Linked DNA regions of Homo sapiens: region 2 is linked to region 1. Evidence: promoter capture Hi-C in human tissues and cell types (Jung and others, 2019). All regions are on one chromosome and are shown on one strand. The core of a region is centred on a gene start or on the middle of the fragment in contact, and the rest is flanking DNA. Distances in the headings are between cores, read along the strand shown.

Region 1 (7,950 bases), core at 1,560-4,059:
AACTGAATTGTGTGCTGATTGTACAATTCAGTAAGTTTATTAAAAATCACTGGACTGTCCACTTAAAACAGGTGAATTTTATGGTATGTAAATTATACCTTATAAAGCAGTTTGAAAAGAAAGCAGATGTGGGGAGTGTATTAGTCTGTTTTCATGCTGCTGATAAAGACATTCCCAAGACTGGGTAATTTATAAAGAAAAAAGAGGTTTAATGGACTCACAGTTTCACATGGCTGGGGAGGCCTCACGATCATGGAGGAAGAGCAAGGGAAGTCTTATGTGGCGGCAGGCAAGAGAGAGCTTGTGCAGGGGGAGCTCCCCTTTATAAAACCATCAGATCTTGTGAGGCTTATTCACTATCACGAGAACAGCACAGGAAAGACCTGCCCCCATGATTCAATTACCTTCCACTGGGTCCCTCCCGCAACACACGGGAATTGTGGGAGCTACAATCCAAGATGAGATTTGGGTGGGGATACAGCCAAACCATATCAAGGAAAGTGGGAAGTGTAAATTAGCTGCCTGGGTCCCAGAAGTGAATCATTAAACTTGAACACTGAATTTTCCTGTATCCTGAAAACTCCAAAGTATCTTAATTCCAGATGACTAGCGGTTGCTTTTAGCCATATTTTAATACATGGAAGCACTTCTGCATTCCCTCTTTTCCCCAGGCCTGGACCTCAATCCCCAGGTGTCTGCAACTCTTACTTGATATACACACAATGGATAATCAATAATGATTCAGCTAAGGTAAGGACAAAGCCTTTGCCACTTTTTACCTTTATTCTTTTTAGCCAGAGCAAATAGTGATATATTAATAGGAATACTCTTAAAAAATTGCTTTAAATGCCAGACTACCTCCTTCATATGCACCACTTAAATTTCTTTTCTTACCAAATTCCCTATTCAAATCCTTTCTTTAGGATTTACAGGATTCAGATAAATATACAGTGATCTCCACTACTGTACCCCACTATTGCCCCAGCTGAAGACCTGTAAACTATTCATCAGTACAGCATGTATGTGATTTATGAGCACGCTCATATGTATTAGTTCCCTACAGTTTCCATAACAAATTATCAAAACTCGGTAGCTTAAAACAATAGCAACTTATTCTTTCATAATTCTGGAGGCCAGGAATCCAAAATCAGTCTCATGGGGAAGAAAGCATGGTGTTGGCAGGGCTCCCTCCCTCCCTCTGGAGGCTCTGCAAGAGAATCAGTTCCTTGCCTCTTCTAGCTCTGCTGGTTGCCAGGCATTTGGTGACTTGTGGCCACATCACTCCAATATCTGCCTCTGTGGTCACATTGCCTTCTCTTCGGCCTATATCAAATCTGCTTCTCTCTCTCTCTTAGGACCTTTGCGTTTGCATTTAGGACCCACCTAGATAATTCACGATAATCTCTCCATTTCAAGCTACTTAATCACGTATGCAAAGGCACTTTTCCCTTATAAGGTAACATTTACAGGTTTCAGGGATTAGGACCTGACATATTTGAGTGGCCACTGCTCAGCCTACCATATAATTTGGGGCCATCTAGCTGGGGGACGGGTGGATCACAAGAGGCCCTGTTTAATAAATGGTGGAGGTCTAAAGTGGCTCACTCATAACATACTAGATAAAACTAAGTCCTCATTGTAAATGCACAACAACAGTAAGGGCTTTGCATACATACAAATAAATTGCTGTCCTCAATTTGTTTTGGGAGTATAATATTAACTCTATGGCATGGAAACCATTTCACCCACAACACAAGTAAGATAACCGCACTAAGATTAAAAGCAATGAGCGCAGTACAGAGATAGGAGGACCACATCTCTCTCAGCACTCCTGCACCCTTACCTGATGAGCTTCCGCACAGAGAAACAGTCCTACCTAGCATGTCTCTGGGATATGTGGAAGCCCTGGTCCTTTCCCCACACGCCCCCGCCATACCCGGCCACAACGCCTTAATCTCCTGCTGAGAGAAGCAGCAAGAACTGGTTGCCAGTCAAAAAACCTGGGCAACAGCCGACCTCACTTCTACTTTCCCCTGACGTTGGAGTTCAGCATGAGGCACAAACAAAACCTGGAGCAGCCTGAGTGGGGCCTGGAGCAGAGTGCTGTGGAAAAGGATGGAGACTTTCCAGAACTCATTGTGTTGCTGATTGATGCTGATAATGAGGGAAAGCTCTGACCCCCACATGTGGTTTAAAGACAGGGCTCAAGCTGAAAGGGCCCTTGCGCCGGCATTTAACACCATTCCGTCTTGGATGCGAGGCTGTCCTCTCTACCACCAAGTCTTCCCCATCTCCTCCCCCTGTTCGCGGCAGCGCGGTAGACACAGAGTCAGCAGTCACGTTGGGGCAGGTTACTCGGTGATTCTCTTCCCCACAAATCAAATCAGTTTGCGCAGGCCCCTGTGTTCTTCAAGGTCCAGGTTTCAGCGCCACCGTCCCCAGGGGTCTTGCAATCCCCTAAAACAACAGCAGCTCATTCCAGTAAAGAAACAATTTATTGGGCATCTTCCATGTGCAGAACAAACACGAGGCACCGGAAGATTCCAGAAATGAACACGAGTCGCTCCGGGTCCTCAGAAGAACCCCACTCCCACCCCACCATCCTCGTCTCCCGGGCCGCGCCCCGCTTGTACCTGCAACCAACACCTAATCCTAAGACACCGGCCACATCTCCGCGGGGCGCCGGCGGGCGCAGCGGCCCCACCTACGTCGACCTGGCGGCTGGGACGGGGCGGCTCCCCACTCTTCGCCCCTAGGCCCCGCGGAGGCTGCGGGGCGGCTCCTCCTCCTCGGCTGCGGCGCCGGAAGCTGCCCGCGCCCGTCACTCCTCGCGGCTGTGGCGCTCGGGGCGCTGCCCAGTCCGCGCGAGCCGCGTGGGTGACGGTTAGGACGCTCTGCGAGGCTTCGTAGTTGGGGGAGGGGAGGAGGGGGGTGCTCGGCAGCTGCCCGGCGGGGACCCCTCCCGCGCCTGCGACTCCGCCCGCCGGACGCCGTCGCTGGGGCATCCGAGCGTCGAAGTCCCCACCACCGCCCGGGCGCCCTAAGGAGTGGGGGTGTACCCAGCCCGGAGTCAAATCCTGGAGCCCTGCCCCAGAAACTACCCTGGGTTCGGACCTGCACCCGGCGCCCTCTGCCGCTTCTCCCACAGCCTCCTAACTGGTCTCCGGCCCTACTCTTGCCCCCACCCGAGCGCCTCGGGCCACTCTCGTAGCTGTCCCCACCGTGGTCTTCCCAGATAACTCACTGACCCGCACCAGTCTGAGCTCTTACCTGCCAAAGAGTCAAGCCCAATCTGGAGTTGCCCGCCGGGCCTCCTACTCTGACACCCCCACCCGGCCCCACCTCACCCCCCCCTCCCATTCCCACTCCTGGCATTCCCATTTGACCATTTCAAGTTAACAGAATTCACATTTTGCAGCTCTGTTTTCTCTGTCCCCGAATGTTCAAGTTCAAACGTGTTCTCGGCATAGCTGACCCTTCTGCCTCTGGAGACTTGTTCCCTCCGCTGTGCTACAGTTACCCTCTGTCATTATCTCTAATATAGAATTTATCAGATTTTGCTGCCCAAATTATCGATCAAATGGAACGCATCCAGAAAGGCCAGTGTCTGATAGATGCAGCCTGAGGCATTTAATTCTGCTAGCAATCACATTGTGCAGACACCTACAGCAAATAACTTTTTATGTATAAGTTGATTAGAAATATTAGTAAGTCTTACATTAAATAATGTAGCTACAAATTTTAATAAAAATAGATTAAATGCCATTAAAGATTGTTTATCATATCTTTGTAGTTAATCCATTTATTGGCTTATAGAGATCTAGGATTAGCTATAGAATCGAGCATTTTTAACAGGAAGTGAAACCATAAGTATTACATAGAAAGGTAAATAATTTAGGTCTTGTGGTTGGACAAAAAGCAATTTCTAATTTTTTCTTTTTTCTATCAAAACATGAGTGTTCAATGACATAAAAATTTTCCATACCTAATACATGGTTTCCATTGGTGTCTCATTTTGTGCTTGTACCCTGGACACACACAAAAAGGTTTTTTTCTTTTCAACGTCTTTAATTAAAAGGTGTGTTAATTAGTGTAGCATGAAATTATCTACACCCACATATATGTACGAAAAGTTATGTGCCCCTGATTTTACTATAAAATTCATCACATTTTGAAGTGTCCTGCGGTTTTACAACATTTTTTAAATATTGTATTAAAAACAGCTTCTTAGCTTTTTAAATAAAGAATTAAAAGATCAAGAAAGGGATCCAAAGTCCTTTTCCATTCATTCATTCATTCCATCCATATTTATAGGGCACCTACAACATGCTATGTGTAGGTTGTGACAATAAAGCTGGGGCCCTCTCCCTCTCCCTCTCCCCCTCCCCCTCCCCCTCCTTTTCCCTCTCCAAGGTCTCCCTCTCCCTCTCTTTCCACGGTCTCCCTCTGATGCCCAGCCGAAGCTGGACTGTACTGCTGCCATGTCGGCTCTCTGCAACCTCCCTGCCTGATTCTCCTGCCTCAGCCTGCGGAGTGCCTGCCATTGCAGGCGCGCGCCGCCACGCCTGACTGGTTTTCGTATTTTTCTGGTGGAGACGGGGTTTCGCTGTGCTGGCCGGGCTGGTCTCCAGCTCCTAACCGCGAGTGATCCGCCAGCCTCGGCCTCCGGAGGTGCCGGGATTGCAGACGGTGTCTGGTTCACTCAGTGCTCAATGGTGCCCAGGCTGGAGTGCAGTGGCGTGATCTCGGCTCGCTACAACCTCCACCTCCCAGCCGCCTGCCTTGGCCTCCCAAAGTGCGGAGAGTGCTGCCTCTGCCCGGCCGCCACCCCGTCTGGGAAGTGAGGAGCGTCTCTGCCTGGCCGCCTATCTTCTGGGATGTGAGGAGCCCCTCTGCCTGGCTGCCCAGTCTGGAAAGTGAGGAGTGCCTCTTCCCGGCCGCCATCCCATCTAGGAAGCGAGGAGCGTCTCTGCCCGGCCGCTCATCGTCTGAGATGTGGGGAGCGCCTTTGCCCCGCCGCCCCGTCTGCGGTGTGAGGAGCGCCTCTGCCCGGCCGCGACCCCGTCTGGGAGGTGAGGAGCATCTCTGCCCAGCTGCCCCGTCTGAGAAGTGAGGAGACCCTCTGCCTGGCAACTGTCCCGTCTGAGAAGTGAGGAGCCCCTCCGCCTGGCAGCCGCCCCATCTGAGAAGTGAGGAGCCCCTCCGCCCGGCAGCCACCCCGTCTGGGAAGTGAGGAGCGTCTCCGCCCGGCAGCCACCCCGTCCGGGAGGGAGGTGGGGGTCAGCCCCTCTGCCCGGCCAGCCGCCCCATCCGGGAGGGAGGTGGGGGGGTCAGCCCCCCGCCCGGCCAGCCACCCCATCCGGGAGGTGAGGGGCGCCTCTGCCCGGCCGCCCCTACTGGGAAGTGAGGAGCCCCTCTGCCTGGCCACCACCCCGTCTGGGAGGTGTACCCAACAGCTCATTGAGAACGGGCCATGATGACAATGGTGGTTTTGTGGAATAGAAAGGGGGGAAAGGTGGGGAAAAGATTGAGAAATCGGATGGTTGCCGTGTCTGTGTGGAAAGAAGTAGACATGGGAGACTTTTCATTTTGTTCTGTACTAAGAAAAATTCTTCTGCCTTGGGATCCTGTTGAACTGTGACCTTACCCCCAAACCTGTGCTCTCTGAAACATGTGCTGTGTCCACTCAGGGTTAAATGGATTAAGGGCGGTGCAAGATGTGCTTTGTTAAACAGATGCTTGAAGGCAGCATGCTCGTTAAGAGTCACCACCACTCCCTAATCTCAAGTACCCAGGGACACAAACACTGCGGAAGGCCGCAGGGTCCTCTGCCTAGGAAAGCCAGAGACCTTTGTTCACTTGTTTCTTTGTTCACTTGGTTATCTGCTGACCTTCCCTCCACTATTGTCCGATGACCCTGCCAAATCCCCCTCTGCGAGAAACACCCAAGAATGATCAATTAAAAAAAAAAAGATCGAAAAAAAAAAAAAAAAAAGAAAGCTGGGAACAAATACAGTCCCTACCCTAGTAGTGCTTACATTCTTGTAGAGGAAGATGAGCAATGCACAAATAGACAAGTTCAAATATGCCAGATGGGGATACGTGTTGTGGAGACAGAGGTAGGAGGTTAGGGAGTGTGGGGCTGCTGTTTCATAGTGAGGTCTTGAAAAGGCCTCATTGATAAAGTGACATTCAAAAGAGACTTGTAGGGCTGGGGGAAGGGATCTGTGTGGTTATTGTGGGACAGAGCTTTTCAGGCATTTGGTTGGTGTGTTTGAAAAAACCCAGAGGCTAGTGAGGACTGAGCAGAGTGGATGAACAAGCAGAGGTTGGGGCGTTGTGGTCATTTAGGGCCCAAGTCACCGAGAGCTCTTTAGTAAGAGTCCATGCATAGGTCCAAGGTTGTTGTGTCTCCCTTCACTGGTTCTTACTCTGCACTAGACCCTGTGCTGGGTACTGGGGAGATGCAAAGAAGCTCCAGTTTCTGCCCTCAAGGAACCTGTGTCCCTCCTAATGTCAATCCAAATGGTGGCTGGGGTTTGTGAGGATGCAGTTAAGACTCAGGAACATGGAACCCAGGCCTGATCTGAGCTTTGGCACTAGCTTGGGCAAGCCATTTGAACTTACAAAGCGTTAGTATTTTCATCTGCAAAATGTGAGATGTAGAAATATCAGAAGGGGCTTTTCTAACTGAAGAAAAAAAAAAAACAAGAAAAAGCCCTATGATTTTATAAAATCAAAGCATAGAACTTTATCTTAATACAAAAACTTTTGTTAAAATTGTGTCAGAAAAGTACTTCAGACATAATATACATAATGCATATACAGGGTCACTTAAAATTTAATTCACAATTTGCTAAGTTCAAAAAAAGTCTTGGTTCAGCCAACACAACGAGCTTTGTAAACAGGTGGTACTTAGGAAAAACCACATATTTTAATTTAGCATATGGTGTAGATTATATGAAATTACTTTAACCATTGTGTTTCCTTTATGATCTAGACCTTGAAACTTTTCTTTGGCCAAAGATCTTCAAAACTAAATACAGTGTTAAAGCAGAGTTACAGAGCAGCCTGGATTAGGGGGATAGATATTTTCCTTTCCTGACTATGGTTTAAAACTTTCTGTTGTACATTTTATTGGGCAACGACTTTTCCCCAGTGCCCAGTACAGAGCTGGACATATAGAAGTCATCAATATATATTGTGGTGGAGGGGATAAGTGGCAAGTCATCTCTAATACATAGTATTAGTATGCAAGTACATAGAGCATAAAATATTAAAAGACCATGTAGTTAATGTTCTGACATTCTTCTCTCCACCAGCGACACAAGGAGAGAAATATATCTAATTAGAAAGCTTGAGTTCAATAAACAAATATTTATTGAGCACCAACTGAGTATCAGGAACATCAGTGAACAAAACGGACCCAAACCCTGCCCTCATGGAACTTACGTTTCAGTGGTGGGGGACGGATCATAAATAATCACCGTGACAAAATTAATGCACTAGAAGGTGGTAAATGCCATGGGGACAAAGGAAGCAGGGAAGGAGAAGAGGAAGTGTGGGATGGATTGTGACTGAGTCCAAACTTGTTCTTCTTGCCACATCACGTCAATAAGTCAAGAGACAAGGAGGTGGAGGAAGGAAAGCGACTTTATTTTGGGGAGCCAGGAAACCAAGAAGAAGCAGACCAATGTCCTAAAGAACCATCTTAGAATTATGCGAGCTTTGCCTTGTCTTTTATATTTAAGTGACAGGGAACCGCAGACATCTGGGCACCAACAAGGGTCCAGGGGAAGTCTGTGAAACTTCTTTGTCCTTGGGTAACGTTCTCTCATGTAACGATAGCCAAACCTCCTTGTTCCTGTAAATCTTTAACAAAACATAGTTGTTTATATACTTCTTCTTTAATCCTAGGGTTAGTTTCCAAGACTACATGATTGCAGTTTT
Region 2 (7,950 bases), core at 2,167-4,666, 56 kb before region 1:
GGCGGAGCTTGCAGTGAGCTGAGATCACGCCACTGCACTCCAACCTGGTGGACAGAGTGAGACTCTGTCTCAAAAATAAATAAATAAAATAAATTATCCAGTCTGAGGTAGTTCTTTACAGCAATGCGAGAAGGGACTAATACACATACCAACCATAAACTGGAGTGTTTCACTGTTTAATATAAGGCCATGGATTTTTCCTGTCAATAAATTCACATGTCTATTTTCACATGTCACTTCATTAGTAAACTTCTAATCAAGCTATTTGACTCCAAGGACTCAAGGTTTTCCACTTTCATAAACACAAAACTGTGCAGACAATGTGATTTATGTGAACACCTGTTTTCCTTTTGGAAGCCTGGACTCTGGACACCTCACACTTCTCTTAGAAATTCAGTACAGAATTTCCAGTACACTGAGGGCTGACTAAAGTTAAGGTCAGTAAGTGTAAGATGTGGGAACTCTTCATGAAAACTATGAGATTTCATGCTATGAATAACTCCATGGGGGCAGCATAACTATTCATGTTTGTCATGTGAGTGAGACACCCTTCTTTTGCAATTGTGCTAGGGTCTACATTGGCTTCACTGCTAAGACTCTTATTTTTTAGTAGGATTTGTGCTGAAGCAACATACCTGAAAGATTGTTTAATTCACTCCTACTTGTTTTCACCTCATTTAATAATTGATCTCTCTCTTGTTTGATGTCCTTCACTGCACGGAGCCGCTCAGAGCCTGCATTCACCAGCTTCACCTTTTCCAGCTCCAAGTCACTCACTCTGGCCTCAAGCTCCCGGATCTTTGCATCTTTTTTATCTTTTAATATCTAAATATATGGATAAATACAAAGGATAGAGAAGTAAAAAATATGTACATGTATAGTTATAATTGATAGCTGCTAACACAGTCCTAAAATCTGACAACAGTCTCCTACTTAATATCCTTTTCTGCCTCCTATCTGTATTCCATCTATATTTATTATCTTTTCATTACTTCCCAGGACACTAAATTTGTATTTTATTATAAAGCATCAATAGAAAGTGGGAAAATATTTCACTTTCTTTTAACCTTAGATGTCAATTCCTAGTATTGCTTGCAACAACCCTTCATTATTCCTATTCTATCTCCATTCACTCAAAAAATACATATTAAGAACCTTCTTTGTGGCAGGAACTATTTTACAAGCAAGGGATATAGAAGCAGGGCTATGACTAGGGTAATGCAAGTGAAGCAGCTAGGTGAGGGCCTCTAACCTGGGCACCTCAGTTACCTCACCCTAGTCCTGGCCCTGGATAGCAATAAACAAAACAATGTCTTTGTCTTCATGTCCTCCTCTAGTAAGAAGAGAAGAAAACAAACAAATATTTAATATGTCAGGTAAGAGAAGTGGCAAGAATAATAATAAAAGCAGGTGAGGGGTACAGAATGAATGCAAGGGAGGGGTTGCTACTTGAGGTAAGCTGGTGTGCAGAAAGAGTTCACATAGCAGGTTTGGGTGCTCTCCTCAAAAAGGCCGCTTACAAGGTTGGCCCTTGACTGTCGTCTGGGAACTTGGATTTTGGGAGGGTTCCCACCACCCTAATAAGAGTGGCTCAGTGTGCCTAAACTGTTTGTGCAAACAATGTGTTCATGCTGAACCCCTGCTTTCCTTCTGGGAACGTGGAATCTGGATACCTGCCAGGTAGAGGGGCCTATGGGACCAAACTCCAATATAAAAACCCGGGCACTGAGGCTTTAATGAGCTTCTCTGGTTAGCAGCACTTGACAGATGTTGTCACGGTGTCTTGCTGGGGCAGGGGGTGGAGTAGGAAGTAAGCATGTCCTGCATAACTCTACTCGGAGAAGGCTCTTGGAAGCTCATGCCTGGCTTTCTCTGGATTTTGCCCCGTGTGCCTTTTCCTTTTGCTGATTTTGCTTTGTATCCTTTCACTGTAATAAATCCTAGCCTTGTGTATGATTATATGCTGAGTCTGGCGAGTCCTCCTAGGGAATCATCAAACCTGGGGTCGGTCTTGGGGACCCTGCCACAGTTGGCAAGGAAAGGCCTCTCTGATGATGTAACATCTAAGCAGATGCTCCTTGTGCTCCTGAGCATAAGGACAAGACACGTGGACAGTCTGGGAAGAGCTCTGTGTACAGGTAACGTGTCTGGGGAAGAGCAGGGACATCAGTAGGGCTGGAGTGAAGTGAGCTTGGGGTAAGCAGGAGATGAAGTCAGAGAGGGGCCAAGGGAATGATCAGGTTGCTCAGAGGCAATGTAAGAACTTGAGCATGCATTGTGAGTGAGTCAGGAAGTCATTGGACAGTTTTGAGTATGAGAGTGATGTAGTGTAACAATTTAAAAATACAACTCTGGCTCTGGTATGAAGGAAAACAGTGGTTGGCGTGGGGGTAGGGGGAGAAGCATGGAGACCAGTGAGAAGGCAACTGGAAGAGCAAACAAGAGAGGTGGGAGCTTAGACTGGGGTGGTTTGTGGTGGTGAAAGTATCTGGTCCTTTGACTAGGGTAGGGAATGTGAATATGGCAACTCTAATTCGGCGTTTCCAACTAACTGTCAGAAACCCCCAGCATGGCATGCTTCTGCAAACTCTGACTCAAACATTCCTATTCCTTCTTCACAGAGGGCCTTCCCCTACAATCCTTTCTGACTCTTCTCTGTTAGAGGCACTACCATGTTGCCAGTCTAAGTTTGAACTCACAAAGTCACCATGTCTTTCCCTGTCCCTCGCCCCTCATACCCAATTGTTGATCAAATCCTGCCCAACCTGCAGGTCTGGACTGCCATCACTTTGCATATGGATTGCCACAGTGCCTCCTAACTGGTCTCTATCTGTGTTGGTAAGGCTTCCTAGGAGGACCCCTCTCTTCCCAGGGTGTAGGTCTGTGTCGTCTAACACAATACCTGCACATGACTCTGGAGCACCTGGAATGTGGCCAAACTAAGTTATGTGCTGTAAGTGTGAAATATACACCAGATTTCAAAGACTTTGTATAAAAATAGAATATAAAATATCTTGGTGATCTGTTGTATTGATTATAATATTAAAAACACTATATTTTGAATATGAGTTAAATAAAATGTTATTAAAATTAATTTCACATTTCTTTTATGTGTCTACTAGAAAACTTAAAATTATATATGTCACTTACACTGTATTTCTGGTGGACAGAACTGACCTAGATCCTTCCGAATAAGTGACATTTGAAAAAAATATTGACTTTCTTTGGTCATCAGATTGTTTCCCCAAATTATCGCCCTACTGGCCTTAGTATCCTGGCAGATGCAATTTGACTGCTATAGCAGCAGTTTAACTGTGGAGACCAATGATACATCTGAAATATAGCCACATGACAAGCTTTTGGCTGTTCAAAAAGGATTGGTGGGGAGCCCCAGGCTTGTCTCACTGCCCGCCTGTGATGGGTTTGGGCAGTAAAGGCCCTAATCTGGGCTATCTGATCTCTGCCTAGCCACTCCTGGCAACTGTCACACTAAATCCAGCTGACCTCATGCAGTAAGGGACGGGGAGGGCTTTCCCTGGGACAACCTGAGGCATCACAACACACATAGGACGAGTGCTGCTCCTGTTCCACCTCTTGAGGCCAGCTGATAGAATTCAGTCCTTTCTTAGTCTTATTATTTATTTGTTTTTAAGAAAGGTCTAGCTCTGGGGACCCACAGTTATTGAAATAAAAGTCACTCTGCTTCTCTGCTGTCAATGTGTGCAGTACCCACTCTGAAGAGGGGACAGAAACCAGGAGAGAAACCATACCTTCTACAGCTATGATTCCCCCACCTTTTTTTCTTATCAGATCACAGAGGGAAGTGGATGTGGCATTAGGACTTGAGTTTTAAACTTATGTTCTTTGTGTCTGTGTGAAACTCTAATTACCTAGGAAATTATTCCCTGAAGCTGCTCCAGCTCCATATTTAGGAACTGAAAATTAGTTTTACTCTCTCCAAGCCACTTCTGCATACTGATGCCAGATTAATCCACTTCCAACACTGTCTTCTTCATGTTACCCCCTCCTTCCTACCCCTAAACCTTTAATGTCTCCCACACCATCTCTAGGCTAAATTACAGACTAGGCTTCTTCCCGGGCTTGGAATGCCATCCTTCCTTCTCTTTGCCTAGTTTTTGCCCATTTCAGGTTCCCAGCTCTCTCTGAAGCTTTCACTGGCCCTCTAGTCAGGAGCTCCACATTCCTTTGAGGCACTAACACAGATCCTGATGGATGCTCTCAGGACCAGCAGTATCCACGTCATCTGGCAACTTGTTCAGAAACACCAAATCTCACACCCCATCCTAGACCTACTGAGTCAGAAACTCTGGGAGCAGGCCAGCAGTCCATGCTTTAAAAAGCCCTCCAGGCGATTCCGGTTCTCACTGAGAACCACTGCACAGTAACATCTACTTAGGCTGCCTAGGTTCAAACCACAAGGTAGTGCTGCTCTCCAGAAAGTTAAACTCTCTGTGTCTCAGTTTCCTCAGCTGTAAAATGGGATAATAATAGTGCCTCCCTCATAAGGTTTTGTGAGGATTAAATTGATTTAAGTTTTAGAGTATAAGAGTGGGATTCTCCTGTTTAGAACCTTAACACACTAGCAATCCACTAGTGATCTTCCTAAGCAAGGTAGAACAACCATCCTTTCTCCTCTGATATGCTCTGCCCTGCATCACACCTGTTCTAAGGGTTTCATTGTAGGGCTGGCCATTGAGAATCCTTTCTATGTCCCTTTTCATGGTGAGTTTGGCCATTTAAAAATGTATATAATCAGGTAAAAACTTAAGCAATAGAAAATTCTATTTTTAATGCAATGAACTTGTTTATTTCCATAAGATGGATAATTATCTATTGCTGGCCCTATTTTTAGAAGGAGGAAACTGAAGCATCTACAGTATATGTGATTTGTCTCCTACTACTCACCAAGTCAGAGATAAAGGTGACATTAATCCTATGAAATCAATTTTTTTAAAAAACCCATTAAATTGTGTTAAATTTTGATAAGTATTTATCGAGCACCTTCTGGGTGCAAGGCACAAAAATATGGGGCAGGAGGTACAAAGGCTAATAAGATGTGTACCCTGGTTGAAGAAGTCTACAATCTTGTAGGGAAAAGGAGACACTGCTACATAAACACACACACAAACACACACACACACACACACGGCAATATAGAATGTGAACCAGGTTTTAACAGGTACAAATAAAGTATGAGAAAGTTCAGAAGGAGACCAAAACAGGGGAAAGAAACTAATATTTATTAAATTTTAAATTATTAAGTTATTTAAATTTTAAATTATTAAATAGCCAGAAACTATTAATAGGCTCATTCCTTGATATATACTTTCTGATTTAAGCCTCACAGTAACCCAACAGGTTGTTGGGAGTTTTTTGTTTTGTTTACTTTTTGGTTTGGTTTTGTTTATCAGATATCGAAGCCAAGATTCAGCAAACAGTCCAATGTTTCACTGTAACTAAGTAGTGAGAGACGGGGTTCAAATTTAGGTCTGTCTGAAGAGGGAGAAAATACTTTCCTGTGGTATCAGGAAAGACTTCATAGATTTTCTGATCTTTTTTCTTTTGTACCCGTGATTTTGAGCCATTTTCGAGTCATCCATTCCTTCTATAATCTGATAAAAGTATTTATCCTTTCTCACAAAAACACACATATACACATAGAAACAAACACCTTCCAACAGTTTCAGAGTGTCCACAGATACCAAGAACCACTTTTCAGTACAGGTCATACCTGCTAATAAATGATATTTCAGAAGTTAAATCACAAAAAAACTCTACAGACCTTAAGTTCCTTTAGTTCCATCCGCCTATCATTAATTTCTTTCTCCAGTTGAGCTTTTTCTACTTGCATAGCTCCAGCAGTTCGTCCATGCTGGCCCACCAGCTGTGTCATGTTCTCAATCTGCTGTCGCAGAATCTCGATCACCTTGTCCTTCTCTGTCATCTGCAGTTTGAGGGCCTCACATTCTGTCTGCACATTTCTGAGATGATCCCCTTCATTTTTCAAGTGTTGCAGCTCCTGCAATTTCAAGTCCACCCGGGAGCGGAGCTTTGTGATCTCTGCATTGGTAGCCTCGATGGCTCTCTCTTTTTCCTGGAGAGAAGTTGTCAGGTCCGATATTGTCCTCTCTGAGCTCTCCAGAGTCATTTTCTTGGCTGTCAACTCTTCTACTACTTTGCGCAGCATCTCTTTGGTGGATTCAAGCTGAGCAGTCAAGGAGGATACTTTTTCTAGACTTTCATTCTTTCCTTGAATTGCTGCCATCTGATTGTTAAAGAAAAGAGAATTTCATAGATTTGGGAGGATAGGTATAGGCAACCTCAAGAGATACAAGTTAACTTAAAAGCATGAAATCATGAATTAGGCAATGTTTAGTAAGATCTTTTTTTTTTTTTTTAAGAGATGGGGGTCTCACTGTGTTCCCTAGGTTGGTCTTCTCAAATTCCCAGCCTCAAATGATCTCCTGCTTCGGCCTCCCAAAGTGCTGGGATTTCAGGGATGAGCCACTGTACCCAGCCATGTCTAGTTAAATTAACTCAATCATTTTGCTGTCAGAACTCTAGCTCTTATAACATATGTAAGACTGACATATGCTAATTAGACCAAGGTGGAGAGGGCTTAATTAAATAATAACGCTCCTCCACAACGGTGTTCTAGAGTGCAGTCTTGGGAAGTTTCCTCTGTGGATGTTTTCTGTACTGATTTAGATTAAGATAACCCTGGCAATGGGGGGAAGGGTGGCGGAATTTACAATAACTACCCCTTATTTTTAATTTCCCTCCAACTTTACCTTTAATTCTACCTCTGAGGAAAAAAATGAATAATGGCTTTTATCCACACACACATTCATATTCTCTGATCCTTGTTTGGAAAAGCTGAAAATTCTAACTTCCAGTTGGTCCTTTCATCTTTCTTCTTGCCCAGGTTAAGCCAGAGAGTAGGTTAATGGCTTTGCCTGGGTCTAAGCCAAGACCAGTCCCTTGGTTTGCTTTCACATTCTGAGAAGCTTACACTTTTGTGGGATGCTTTTTATGTCCCTGTGGCAGTAACTGGCATTAGAACCATGTCTTCCTAGCACAGAAAGTACACTGCTATTAAGAAGGCAGTCCACGTTTTGCTACTGGAGGGTGCACCGGAATGGAATGCACTCATCAGTCTCAATCAGTGATGAGACTTGGGGAAAGAGAGGCAAGTCTCTTTTGGGAGAAAAATAAAGCAAAAAAATCTGTTAGAAACCTTCAACCCTGTTGCTTCTCAGGCTGCCCAATAATTTGATGCTTCTCTGCAGCAGAAATAAGCAATTATTAGGTTACCAATTTTTAGGTAAACGTGAAAAGGCAATGGGATAAGAGTTTAGTTCTTCAACAATGTACAAGTGAGATAAAGCTTGACACATTTAGTTTAATTAGTGTCTATATATAGGCCGGGCGCAGTGGCTCACGCCTGTAATCTCAGCACCTTGGGAGGCTGAGGTGGGCAGATCATGAGGTCATGAGATCGAGACCATCCTGGCTAACATGGTGAAACCCCATCTCTACTAAAACTACAAAAAATTAGCTGGGCATGGTGGCACACGCCTGTAATCCCAGCTACTTGGGAGGCTGAGGTAGGAGAATTGCTTGAATCCGGGAGGTGGAGGTTGCAGTGAGCCGAGATCGCGCCACTGCACTCCAGCCTGGGTGACAGAGGAAGACGCCATCTAAAAATAAATAAATAAATAAATAAACAAAAAATGAAATAAAATGAAAAATAAGTATCAGGTTTTCATAAATTGCTCACAGAATCCATAGCTTTATTTTAGGAGCCATTTTAGGTCCATATATGTTAAAAATAAAAAGCTCTATTTAGACATAAAATATTTATTTCCCCAGAGGAGATTGTTTGGCGATGGCACAGCCTGTGCAGGCACTGACCTGCCGCTCCATCTG

The links. Contacts are between HindIII fragments. The study calls those that stand out against the background at their distance.
Region 2: a fragment that was not itself captured here is called in contact with the fragment with the promoter of CCDC158 in region 1 in 1 of the 25 tissues and cell types used here (pancreas).

The regions. Positions count from the first base shown.
Region 1 is chr4:76,418,332-76,426,281 of GRCh38, forward strand. CCDC158 (coiled-coil domain containing 158) reads right to left here and starts at 2,810. Exons shown (of 25, transcript NM_001394954.1): 1 at 2,634-2,810. The HindIII fragment of the contact is 21,952 bases long and covers 1-7,950 here.
Region 2 is chr4:76,361,491-76,369,440 of GRCh38, forward strand. It overlaps CCDC158 (coiled-coil domain containing 158), which reads right to left. Exons shown (of 25, transcript NM_001394954.1): 11 at 7,936-7,950; 12 at 5,804-6,286; 13 at 636-825. Among named protein-coding and RNA genes, the nearest start is that of CCDC158, 56 kb to the right of the region's middle. The HindIII fragment of the contact is 4,364 bases long and covers 1,235-5,598 here.